Regions from separate parts of the Homo sapiens genome. Here region 2 is linked to region 1. The links are contacts of gene promoters, found by promoter capture Hi-C in human tissues and cell types (Jung and others, 2019). All regions are on one chromosome and are shown on one strand. Each heading gives the region's core, a stretch centred on a gene start or on the middle of the fragment in contact. The rest is flanking DNA. Distances are from core to core; before and after follow the strand shown. Region 1 holds the start of TUSC2 (tumor suppressor 2, mitochondrial calcium regulator). Region 2 overlaps LOC105377085 (a long non-coding RNA gene).

Region 1 (6,473 bases), core at 1,521-4,020:
TTAGACTCAGAATATGCCTGACCTGTCCACAGGTAATTGGGGAACATCTGACTTGGTTGTCTCAGTAAGGTGACCGTTTTGTAGGGCCCATCTTCCATACAAACTGCTGTCAGGGATCCTACCAGAGATCATTCAGCCAAGAGCCTGACATCAGAAAGCCCAGTCCTAGCTTGTGTGAACATGAGGTGCTAGTCTTCTCTGGGGAGGGTCTGCTGGCTTGGCCATCCCTTCTGCAGCCTGTACACTCCCCTTTTGCCCCTTGCAGTGGGACGCCTTCAGCATGCCTGAACTACATAACTTCCTACGTATCCTGCAGCGGGAGGAGGAGGAGCACCTCCGCCAGATCCTGCAGAAGTACTCCTATTGCCGCCAGAAGATCCAAGAGGCCCTGCACGCCTGCCCCCTTGGGTGACCTCTTGTACCCCCAGGTGGAAGGCAGACAGCAGGCAGCGCCAAGTGCGTGCCGTGTGAGTGTGACAGGGCCAGTGGGGCCTGTGGAATGAGTGTGCATGGAGGCCCTCCTGTGCTGGGGGAATGAGCCCAGAGAACAGCGAAGTAGCTTGCTCCCTGTGTCCACCTGTGGGTGTAGCCAGGTATGGCTCTGCACCCCTCTGCCCTCATTACTGGGCCTTAGTGGGCCAGGGCTGCCCTGAGAAGCTGCTCCAGGCCTGCAGCAGGAGTGGTGCAGACAGAAGTCTCCTCAATTTTTGTCTCAGAAGTGAAAATCTTGGAGACCCTGCAAACAGAACAGGGTCATGTTTGCAGGGGTGACGGCCCTCATCTATGAGGAAAGGTTTTGGATCTTGAATGTGGTCTCAGGATATCCTTATCAGAGCTAAGGGTGGGTGCTCAGAATAAGGCAGGCATTGAGGAAGAGTCTTGGTTTCTCTCTACAGTGCCAACTCCTCACACACCCTGAGGTCAGGGAGTGCTGGCTCACAGTACAGCATGTGCCTTAATGCTTCATATGAGGAGGATGTCCCTGGGCCAGGGTCTGTGTGAATGTGGGCACTGGCCCAGGTTCATACCTTATTTGCTAATCAAAGCCAGGGTCTCTCCCTCAGGTGTTTTTTATGAAGTGCGTGAATGTATGTAATGTGTGGTGGCCTCAGCTGAATGCCTCCTGTGGGGAAAGGGGTTGGGGTGACAGTCATCATCAGGGCCTGGGGCCTGAGAGAATTGGCTCAATAAAGATTTCAAGATCCTCCTGCTGTTGGAATCTTTTATACATATAAAGTTTTTGTAGAGACATGAGTCTCTCTGTGTTGCCCAGGATCCTCCCAACTTGGCCTCCCAAAGTGTTGGGATTACAGGTGTGAGCCACCCTGCCCAGCCTGGACTCTTTATTATTATAGGCGCAGAGCTGCAGTTGCCCCTCATGGTGCCAGAAGTTGCCAAGGGTGATGGACAGGCTCCCAGGTGTCTTGCAAAGTCACCATGGACCAATTTGTGAAGATGTAGTATGCATACATACTTGGTCATCACTCAGCTCCCTGGGGCTCAGGTTGTGGTGGAGACAAAAATGGACTGCAGTTAGAACTTAGGGAAACTGGCTGGGCATAGTGGCTCACACCTGTAATCCCAACACTTTGGTTGGGCTAGGTGGGCAGATCACTTGAGGCCAGGAGTTCGAGGCCAGCCTGGCCAGCATGGCGAAACCCCATCTCTACCAAAAATACAAAAAAAATTTAGCTGGGCGTGGTGGTGGGCGCTTGTAGTCCCAGCTACTCAGAAGGCTGAGGCAGGAGAATCGCTTGAACCCGGCAGGCAGAGGTTGCAGTGAGTGGAGATCACACCACTGCACTCCGATAGAGCAAGACTCCAACTCAAAAAAAAAAAAAACGGCCGGGCGCAGTGGCTCAGGCCTGTAATCCCAGCACTTTGGGAGGCCAAGGCGGGTGGATCACCTGAGGTCCGGAGTTCAAGACTGCCTGACCAACATGGTGAAACCCCGTCTCTACTAGAAATACAAAAAAATTAGCCGGCATGGTGGCAGATGCCTGTAATCCCAAGTACTCGGGAGGCTGAGGCAGGAGAATCGCTTGAACCCTGGAGGCAGAGGCTGCAGTGAGCCGAGATCGTGCCACTGCACATTATCCTGGGCGACAAGAGTGAAACTCCATCTCAAAAAAAAAAAAAAACAAAACCATCCCTTCAACACACACACACCACGCTCTGGGAGAAGGTGTGGCATAACTCCTTCACCAAATACAGAGCTGCCACCGTGGACCAGACACTGCTCGTGATACCGAGGGTATAGCTGTTAACAATTCTTGCTTTCATTAAGCATGGACTCTGCTGGGTTTGAAAACACTGAATTCGAAGTTCTTCAGAACTGAATGTAACTATGTGAATCTGGCCAGTTCCTTAATTTTCTTTCAACTTGGTTAGTTCACATAAGCGTGGCAATCGCAAAAATACAGCTGTGAAAATAGAAGCCAGATGGGCACCCGGCGGTCTGGCCTTAGGCCCTGAAGTGCAGGTTTGAGGATTGGTGCTTGCGAAGTCCTGCTAGGCCTGAACTCAGGTGTTGGGGGACGTCAGAGCCGCCAAATACACCCAAAAGACCGGGAGGACTCACGGCCACCACTTTCCTCGGTGGGAGCTGTCCCAGCTGGTCAGATCGCGCTTGCTGGGACCTGGGATCTCGCAACGCATGCTGGGATGCCCAGCATCTAAGGGCGCCCATTGGTCCCGCCCCCACGACTTGAGCAACAGCCAATCAGAGGTGGCAGCGTGCGGAAGCGGAAGTGAGGTTTCCGTGGAGACAGCCGAGCCTGCGGAAGGCGGCGGCGGCGGCACCTGCGATCAGCGGCTGGGGCAGGTTATGGTAGTGCGGACTGCGGTGTGAGCAGAGCGGCCACGGGGCCCGCCATGCGCCGGCGGCCCTGACATGGGCGCCAGCGGGTCCAAAGCTCGGGGCCTGTGGCCCTTCGCCTCGGCGGCCGGAGGCGGCGGCTCAGAGGCAGCAGGAGCTGAGCAAGCTTTGGTGCGGCCTCGGGGCCGAGCTGTGCCCCCCTTCGTATTCACGCGCCGCGGGTAAGGGCATGGGTTCCACCCTGGCGGGGGGAACAGGCGGGCGGCCAGGCGTCCCGCGCCACGGGGGAACTTCCACCGCTGTACCCCACTACAGCCAAGCCAGGACGACCCCCATATTTTGAGCCTCATTGGAGCTGGGGGTGGAGAAAGCCGGGCAGTGGTCTCCTGGCGGCCTGGCCACTCTGAAAGTCTCCCTAGGGAAGAGTGGGCCTGAGGCTTGTCACTGGTCGGACCTTCCGCACGGTAAAGCTAAGCTAGGGCCTCCATAAGACCTCCATAAGATCTCTTCCTTTCATCCCTTCCGGCTCAGCCTGCATACTGAAGGGTCCTAGCCTCCCTTTCCCCCCCAGTTATTCCAAGGGGATAATAACCCTCTGTTTAGGCTGCTTTTCCTGACAGTAGTGGGGCTGAACCTTTGAGCGTAGTGGCTGGGAAAGCAGGGATAGGCCTCAGTATTGGGGGTGAGGCTGAGGAAAAAAGACCCTCACCCAGTTATGTTCTCCAGATCCAGAGCGCTGACCTACCCACCCAACCCCCAGCCCAGTCTCCCAGAGGCCCGCACAAGAGTACCAGATTGGCTTGGCTCTAGTGGGCTCCTGGAGATGGGCGCTCCCTGTGCTAGAGATTTGGCTGTAGACACCAGGAAGACCCAACAGTGGCAATTCACCAGCCACCTGGGGTGTGGGGTCAGGGGAGACGCAGCCTTCATTCCTTTGTGCTTCTTCCTAGCTTAGGCTTCTGCTATTTCAGTCTTTGACACTGGGCCAGCAGCATCTTCTGGAGTGAGACCAACATGCCCAGGCCACCACCCTGCCCACTCTAGAAGTCCTGGGTGAAGGCAAAGTCCTGATATTAGAATGGCTGCCCTTGCTGAACAAATCAAGGATGAGAACTGGCCTTGGTGGCTGCCTGGATGGTGTGCTCTGGTGTGGGCTCTCTTCTTGGGGGTCTGACATAGTAGCACTGCCCACCCATCACCTCACTTCCCACTTTCTTCTAGTAGACCCCAAACCCCAGGCAAAGGATTCTCCAGGCAGGCCAGGCACCGTGGCTCACGCCTGTAATCCTAACACTTTGGGAGATGAAGACGAGTGGATTGCCTGAGTTCAGGAGTTCGAGACCAGCCAGAGCAACATGGCAAAACCCCGTCTCTACTAAAATACAAAAAATTAGCAGGGTGTGGTGGTGCATGTCTGTAGTCCCAGCTACTTGGGAGGCTGAGGCAGGAGAATTGCTTGAACCCAGGAGGCAGAGGTTGCAGCAAGCTGAGATCGCGCCACTGCACCTCCAGCCTGGGCAACAGAGTGAGATTCTGTCTCGAAAAATTTTTTTTAAAAAAAGGATTCTCCAGGCATATTATCCTCTTTTCTTCCCACTTGGGGTTGGGAAGACCACAGACTTCCCCGTGACCTGTGACATTTGCCATGCCCAGGTGTGGGGCTCCAGCCCAGCCTGTTTCCTTCTCCCTCTACACAGCTCTATGTTCTATGATGAGGATGGGGATCTGGCTCACGAGTTCTATGAGGAGACAATCGTCACCAAGAACGGGCAGAAGCGGGCCAAGCTGAGGCGAGTGCATAAGAATCTGATTCCTCAGGTGAGGGGCTGGGCAGCGGTCACAGAGCCTACACTAAGCGTGTGGAGGTGGACCCAGATGGGATCTGTTGTCATGGTGGGGGCTTTTGCGGGGGGATCTGGGAGGAACAAGGAAGCTTCCTGAAGTAGAGGCCCTGAGCTGACCCTTACTAGCCTCTGTTTCCATGGCAGGGCATCGTGAAGCTGGATCACCCCCGCATCCACGTGGATTTCCCTGTGATCCTCTATGAGGTGTGACCCTGGGAGGTGGCAGACAGAAGCACCCCCTGCCCCGGCAAGAAACTCCCAGGCTCAATCAAGGTGTGGCTTCCATTGAGGAGCCCAGGCTGGGGCCACAACCCTGAATAAACTCTGTTGGCCCATAACCTTCAGCTGTGAGCGGGTCGGTCCCACAGTATTGGTTGGGTGTTGGTTTGTGTGTGGACAAGAGGTGGTTGGTGGGTGGTGAAGGCTAATGGCAGAGTTAGCACCCCACTCTCCCAAGCCACCCCTGCAAGCAGCACAGCAGGGCATATACCAGTCAGGAATGCCCGTTACCTGGTTCCTTGCCTGGTCTGCTTTCTTCCAAGTTTGCCTGGGGCCTAGCCCTGCTAGAGGCTACAGCACTTTACAAGCAAGGTATGCTTTCTTCCAGCCCCTAGGCTGTGGGCACTGTATACAAGTAGGAACTTCCTTTCCTTCACTTCCCTTTTAACCCCTAGTCAGAGCATTTCAGCCGTTTGCTACCTCGATTCCTCCTGTGTTGGACAGAGGCTGGGGGCAGTGCCAGCCTGATTCTTCCGACCTACCTGCCATTTGTTCCCGCCTTCAGATGGATGGACAGTTTGCTGGCTATTGATAGGAGTGGGGACTGGGTGGGGGCTTCTCCCTCTACCCAGGGCTGGGCTGATCCCCCTACTGCAACTAACTGTTGCCCCCCAACCCCGAACCCCCAGTTGAGGAGTTGAGAGAGTGCAGGCTGGGGTCAGGACAGGCTGCGGATGCTTGTGCCTATGGGGAGTTACTCCAACCCACCTATTCTGTCTAATCTCCATGGCTTTGCACCAAATCCTCCACCCCTCCAATTGGGAGGGGACTGTTCACCACCTTGTGGTAAGGGACAACACCCTAAGGCTGGTGCCAGTAGTTATGAGTAGCCTACCACCCCCTCCCTTACAGTAACCCCCACCCCTTCAGGATCAGTCAAGGGAAAGCACTAGAACCCCTGGGTAGGGAAAGAAAGGAGGGAAAAACCATAAAAGGAATACTTATAATGTGAAGGTTTGTAAATAGTCCATGATGATGTCGTGGCAGAGTCTGATTTCTATATAGAGGTGACTTTTTTTTTAAGTACTGTGCAAGCTCTGTGCTTCTATAATGTGGGAAATGGCTTGGGGAGGATGGCCCCTAGCTTAGGAAGACTGTTGTGTTATTTGTTCAATTTCAATAAAATGATTTGTAGATCCTGCACATGAGAGTGGCATCCTGTGGGGGCTCTGACACCCAGTGTCTAGACTACCACCTGGGTTCAATAGGTAGGCCTGGCACAGGACTCTGGCAGGCCCCCTATGACCAGCAAAGCCCAAGAGTAAGTCTGAGCCCAGCCTGTGGCCATCCCAACTGTGGCCAGCAGGTGGCTGTGTGTTCACACAGACCTCACTGCAGGCCCCCTGCAGGGTGGGAGGGCACTCATTTATCTGTTGTGATCCATGTGGTGGTGACCCTTGGAATCAGAAGGCCCTGGGATACTTCACTAAGGATTGGCCCCACCTGCCTGATCTAAGGTGAGAGAGTGTGACCCAAGATAGTTCTGGAATATCTGTCTTAGCTGTAGCATCGCCAGCTGATCCTAAGTGGGG
Region 2 (6,473 bases), core at 2,819-5,318, 1.2 Mb before region 1:
TTTTACAGTTATTAACTCATTTAATCCTCACATCAACATTCCACTTCAAAGGTGGAAAAATAAGCTGAGAAGTCAGAAGAGCGATGGGGTTTGAGTGCAGATCATCTAGGTCCAGAGCCCATGCTTATAACCATCCCCAACATGAATGAGGAAGTATGTTCAGAGTTGAGCCTAGAAGAGTGTGGTCTGTAGAATGTGACTAATAGAAACCTATCCTATATGGATGTTCATTCAAATGAACAGATGTTTATTGTTCCCCAGTTGTATTTCAGATGCTGATATGCCCTGGGGAACACAGCACTAAACAGGAGGGAACAGGTCTCTGCCCTCAAGTAGCTTACCTTCTAAACAGGTGAGAAAGACAGTACAAAATAATTGCAAATTCTAATAAGTTCTGAAAACACGAAACAGAGACCAGTATGGGAGAGAGGCTGTTGGAAGAGGGAAGGCATTGGGTAAGACCAACCCAATGAGGTGTCCTGTGAGCTGAATCCTGAATGCCAAGAATGCTAACGAGAACCATGTAAAGTCTCAGGGAAGAAGAATTCTAGGCAGAGGGACCAGAACTTGGGGGCAACATGGTGTGTAGGTGTAGTGAGAAGCCCCAGATAACTGCCCTGTGAAAGATTCTCCCCAGGGCCTGAAAGCTTGAAGGGATGAGTAACTCCTCCCTTCTCAGGCCCAGTCCCAAGGCAAAAGGCCACTTGCGCTAGCAGTGTGCGTCAGCAAGATAGCAGAAGCAGGAAGAGAGCCGGCCGGAAGACACCTACCCAGGCCGGAAGACACCTCCCCTGGCCGGAAGACACGTAACTCTGAAGATCGAGAAAAAGGCCACCCAGGTACCACGTAGCAGTTACGTCAGACTGGGACACTTCCTGTTTACAGGAGACTATAAAACCCCTGCCCCATCCTCACTTGGGGCTGATGCCATTTTAGGCCTCAGCCCGCCTGCACCCAGGCGCTCATTAAAACAGTGTGTTGCTCCACACCGCCTCGTGTTGTCCATTGGCGTGCTCTCGGGGTTTGAACCGATACAAGAACTTTCATCTGGTGCCGAAACCTGGGGCAGGGGTTTTCCGCTCCTCCTAGGCACCACCTCCCAAAAAGCTGAACTCATTGCTGTCACTCAAGCTCTCACTCTAGCAGCCAGACAACAAATTAACATATATTTGGATTCTCGTTATGCGTTCCATGAAGTACACTCACACTCGTCTATCTGGAAAGAACGAGGTTTCCTAACTGCAAAAAACACTCGTGTCATAAATGGCTCTCTCATCAGCAAGCTCCTTCAAGCTGCCAGTCTCCCACAGAAAGTTGCCATCATTCATTGCAGGGGCCACCAAATCCCAGACAATTCTATATCGGCCGGAAATGCTTTAGCAGATCAGGTAGCCAAACAAGTAGCCCTATAACCCATGCAAGGCCAGTTTCTGTCCCTGTCCTTGTTCTCTCCTCTTTCCTCCTCAGAAGAAAAGGAGGACTTCCAGGCCCAGAACCTCCAAAAGCAAGGACCACGGTATGTCAAGGAAGGGCACTTCGTTCTTCCTCACTCTCAAACAATTCCTATCCTCCAAAGTCTCCACAACTCTTTTCATGTCGGTTACAAACCTCTCTTACAACTTCTCCGCCCTATTCTCACTTGTGCTCACCTTTCCAGCCATGTCTGAGAGATTACCCAGTCCTGCTCTATCTGCCACTCAGTGTCACACCCAGGTTCCCTCCAGCCACTGCCTTTTCCTACCCACCAAGCCCAGGGCCAGATACCCGGGCAAGATTGGCAAGTAGATTTCACTCACATGCTGCCCGATAAATGGCTCCGCTATCTTCTAGTCTTTGTACTTTCTCTGGGTGGGTAGAAGCATTCCCAACAACTTCAGAGGGTGCAAATATCATCACACAAACGCTCATCATGCCTATAATTCCCCGTTTTGGACTCCCAACATCCATCTAGTCCAAAAACAGGCCCTCCTTCATCACCTTATCTAAGGTGTCTCCACATCCTGAGGAATAAAGTGGGTTCTCCACATCCTGAGGAATAAAGTGAGTTCTCCACACACCCTACAGGGCTCAATCTTCAGGCAAAGTTTTATTTTATTTTATTTTTATTTTTGGAGATGGAGTCTTGCTCTGTCACCTAGGCTGGAGTGCAGTGGTGTGATCTTGGCTCACTGCAATCTCCGCCTCCCAGGTTCAACCGATTCTCCTGCCTCAGCCTCCTGAGTAGCTGGGACTACAGGCACCCGCCACCATGCCCAGCTAATTTTTGTATTTTTTTAGTAGAGACAGGGTTTCACCATGTTGGCCAGGATGGTCTCAATCTCTTAATCTCATGATCCGCCCGCCTCGGCCTCCCAAAGTGCTGGGATTATAGGCGTGAGCCACCATGCCTGGCCAAGGCAAAGTTGAAAAAGTCAACTCTGTCCTTAAAGCCCAACTCACCAAGCTAGCTCTAGAAACCCATCTGTCGTGGACAAGAAATCTCCCTTTTGCCATCATGAGACCGCAACACCAAAAGCACCCTCTTTTTATAGTCCTTTCGAAATCATGTATGGCCGAACTTTTGTCTTAGGGCCTCCATCCTCACCAGACTCTGAGCCACTCAGGAATTACCTCCCCTCCGTAATCCAGACACGGTCTTTCATCCATGAAGCAGCAAATGAGGCAATGCCTCTCCCTGTCGACACCTCCTTGTCCTCTCAACATAACTGTCTTGCAGGAACAGACGTGTTCATCTGCCAACCTGACCTTCACAAAAAGCTACGACCAAAGTGGACAGGCCCCTACACTGTGATACTCAGCACACCAGCTGCAGTGAGAGTCCAAAGATTCCCCAACTGGATCCATCGCACCAGGGTCAAGCTCATCCCCAAGGCTACGTCTTCCTCCAAAACATTAGCAGCTAAGTGGTCGTCAAGCACAATTTCTCCTACCAAGCTTAAATTAACCAAAAAACTTTCTTAAAACCAAAAACCCCCTAGAAAGTGTAAACATGGAGAAGACTAATTACCTGCTTCCAGAAATGGCCTGTATCTACCCAACCGCTTGCTGTGCCTCACTTCCAACCACAAGTCTTCTTTTTTTTTTTTTTTTTTTGAGATGGAGTCTCGCCCTGTTGCCCAGGCTGGAATGCAGTGATGCTAACTCGGCTCACTGCAACCTCCGCCTCCCAGGTTCAAGCAATTCTCCTTCCTCAGCCTCCCGAGTAGCTGGGATTACAGATGTGTGCCACCACTCCAGGCTAATTTTTTGTATCTTTAGTAGAGATGGAGTTTCACCATGTAGGCCAGCCTGGTCTGGAACTCCTGACCTCATGATCCACCCACCTCGGCCTCCCAAAGTGGTGAGATTACAGGTATGAGCCACTGTGCCTGGCCCCAACCAAAAGTCTTAATACGGAAATATCCCTCATCACAGTCTTAATGCTGTCAGTAGACGCCCTGCTGTCCACAGCAGCCCTCCAAGCTGCCATGAGTGTTATCAGTCTTTCTACTATGGAGGAAAAATCCAACAGTCCTTTACTTACCATACCCATATAGAAAGATCCTGTTATGGAGTCTTAGTCAAAGAATGTGTTGAATCAGGGAAAAGTTATTATAAAGTAAAGCATCTAGGAGTATCTGGCAGTCGTAATGGGGCTATATGCCATTATGCCATAATGGGGCTATATGCCGCAAAGGGAAGCAGTGGCTTTGTTTCACCAAAACTGGACAACGCGGAGTAAACACTCAAGTGCTAGAGGACATAAAGAGAGAACAGATTATAGCCAAAGCAAAAGCTAAAGCCGACAGCTACCCCCCAAAACCACCCATAGTATTTCCACCCCTTTATAAAAAACTACCAGGAGATGTATCCCTTCCCAAGCCAGGAAAAAAACCTGTTTGTAGATCTAGGAGAACGCATCGCACTTACCATGAATGTGTCCAATTGCTGGGTATGCAGGGGAGCCCGTATGAGTGAACAGTGGCCGTGGTATGTCATAGACATTCCCCCTTACTTACTAATATCCCAAAACTACAGCCTCACTTTCACTCCTCAGGAATGCCCGCAGTCCTGAACACTTACCAACCCAGTAAGAGGGATGGTGTGCATATCCCACAAGTGGACTAGTAAAACCCGTTGCACCATAGGTGAAAGCACTTGTCACCAAACCCTAACAGTCAACACCTCCACAGCCAAGTGGTGGCCAAGGTTACCGCACAGAGCCTGGTCTCCCTCTAACTTAAGCTATCTCAATTGTGTTCCATCAAAAAGAGCCTGGAACTGTACAAATACCACTAACCCTTATGCCACATACTCCCGCCTAAGTGCACTATGGAACAATCCTACGAACACCAGCCTACAATGGATTGCCCCTGATGGATTCTTTTGGGTATGTGGAACCCAAGCTTACTCATGGCTACCTTATCACTGGCAAGGTACTTGCTTCCTAGGCACAATTAAACCTGACTACTGACTTCGCGAATGCACAAGGTGGGAGTGTAGTGAAAGGAAGAAGACTTGCTGAAGAAGTCCTTTTAAGGGTGAGGAGGACTCGGATTGAAGAATAGCATGACAAAAGGCATGGATGTAGGAAAGACAAGAGAGAGGTAGTCCTAGCTGGACTTGAGGGTTTGTCTGGGAAGGCCAGGATGTACCATCCCTAGTGATTCCCAACAGCTCAGTCAGTAGCCACTCTCAAGTCACTTTAGAGCCAAAGTTTTGGTGGCAGGGTCAGCTTTCATGATAAAAATACTCAGCAAACTAGTAAAGAAAGAAAGTTGGTCAGGCACACTGGCTTACACCTGTAATCCCAGCACTTTGGGAGGCCGAGGTGGGCAGATCACTTGATGTCAGGAGTTCAAGACCAGCCTGGCCAACACGGTGAAACCCCATCTCTACCAAAAATATAAAAAATTAGCTAGGCATGGTGGTGCACGCCAGTAATCCCAGCTACTCATGAGGCTGAGGCAGGAGAATCGCTTGAACCCGGGAGGTGGAGGTTGCAGTGAGCTGACATTGTGCCACTGCACTCTGGCCTGGGCAACAGAGCGAGACTCCCTCTCAGAAAAAAAAAAAAGAAAGAAAGAAAGTTATTTAATCTAAAAAGGGCATTTATATAAAACCCACAGCTAAATCATACTCAATGGTGAAATACTGAAACCTTTGTACCCTTTCTCCATAAGACCAGAATGTATTGCAAGTTCTAGCCAGAGCAATTAGGCAAGAAAAAAAAGGCATCTAAATTGGCCTTTTCATGAGAAAAGCACTCAACAAACTAGGAATAGAAGAAACATAATAAAGATTGTATATGAAAAATTCATAACTAATATCATGTTTAAGGATAAAACTTGAAACTGTTTCCTCTAAGATCAGAAACAAGACAAGGATGCCCACTTTTTTTTTTTTTTTTTTTTTGGAGACGAAGTCTCACTCTTGTTGCCCAGGCTGGAGTGCAATGGCACAATCTCAGCTCACTGCAACCTCCACCTCCCGGGTTCAAGTGATTCTCCTGCCTCAGCCTCCTGAGTAGCCGGGATTATAGGCGCCTGCCACCACGCCCAGCTAATTTTTGTATTTTCATTAGAGACAGGGCTTCCCTGGCCAGGATGGTCTTGAACTCCTGACCTCAGGTGATCCAGCCCACCTCGGACTCCCAAAGTGCTGGGATTACAGGCGTGAGCCACCACGCCCAGCCTAGATGCCCACTTTTGCTGCTTCTTTTTAACATAGTTCTGGAAATCCTAGCCAGAGCAATTAGGCAAGAAAAAGAAATATAACAAATCCAAATTGGAAAGGAAAAAGTAAAATTATCTCTATTTTCAGATGGCCAATGATTTTTTATTTATTTCTTTATTTATTAGAGACAGAGTCTCACTTTGTTGCCCAGGCTAGAGTGCAGTGATGCAATCATAGCTAAGTGCAGCCTGGGACTCCAGGAAACTCAAGCAGTCCTCTTGCCTCAGCCTCCAGAGTAGCTGGGACTATAGGTATATCAGGTTTTTTTTTTTTTGTTTTGTTTTTTTTGTAGAGAAAGGGTCTCACTATGTGCCCAGGCTGGTCTCAGAACTCCCAGCCTCAAGTGATATTCTTGCCTTGCCTCACCCTTCCAAAGTGCTGGGACTACAGGCATGAGCCACCACACCCAGCCAGCTGACATGATTTTATATGTAGAAAACCTACAGAGTCTACCAAAAAAAAAAATATGTGTCAGAACTAATAAAGGCAGCAAGGTTGCAGAATACAAAATCAACACACAGGCTGGGTGCAGTGGCTCAAGTCTGTAATCTCAGCACTTTGGGAGGCCAAGGCGGGTAGATCACCTGAGGTCAGGAGTTTAAGACCAGCCTGGCCAACAAGGTGAAACCCCGTCTCTACTAAAAATACAAAAAATTAGCCAGCCATGGTGGCGGACGCCTGTAATCCCAGCTATTTGGGAGGCTGAGGTAGCAGAATTGCTTGAACCCAGGAGGCAGTGGCTGCCGTGAGCCGAGATT

What was found. The method cuts DNA at HindIII sites, captures the fragments that hold promoters and counts their contacts. A contact is called where the count stands out against the background at its distance.
Region 2: a fragment that was not itself captured here is called in contact with the fragment with the promoter of TUSC2 in region 1 in 1 of the 25 tissues and cell types used here (dorsolateral prefrontal cortex).

Annotation. Positions count from the first base shown.
Region 1 is chr3:50,324,520-50,330,992 of GRCh38, reverse strand. It overlaps TUSC2 (tumor suppressor 2, mitochondrial calcium regulator), which reads left to right and starts at 2,770. Exons shown (of 3, transcript NM_007275.3): 1 at 2,770-3,039; 2 at 4,516-4,636; 3 at 4,807-6,084. The coding sequence starts at 2,894. The coding sequence ends at 4,872. It overlaps RASSF1 (Ras association domain family member 1), which reads left to right. Exons shown (of 6, transcript NM_007182.5): 6 at 266-1,205. The coding sequence ends at 412. RefSeq lists an enhancer at 2,526-2,635 and a silencer at 6,156-6,345. The HindIII fragment of the contact is 5,713 bases long and covers 1-3,868 here.
Region 2 is chr3:51,528,256-51,534,728 of GRCh38, reverse strand. All of the region lies in intron 1 of LOC105377085 (a long non-coding RNA gene), which reads right to left. Among named protein-coding and RNA genes, the nearest start is that of RAD54L2, 7.2 kb to the left of the region's middle. The HindIII fragment of the contact is 4,554 bases long and covers 1,792-6,345 here.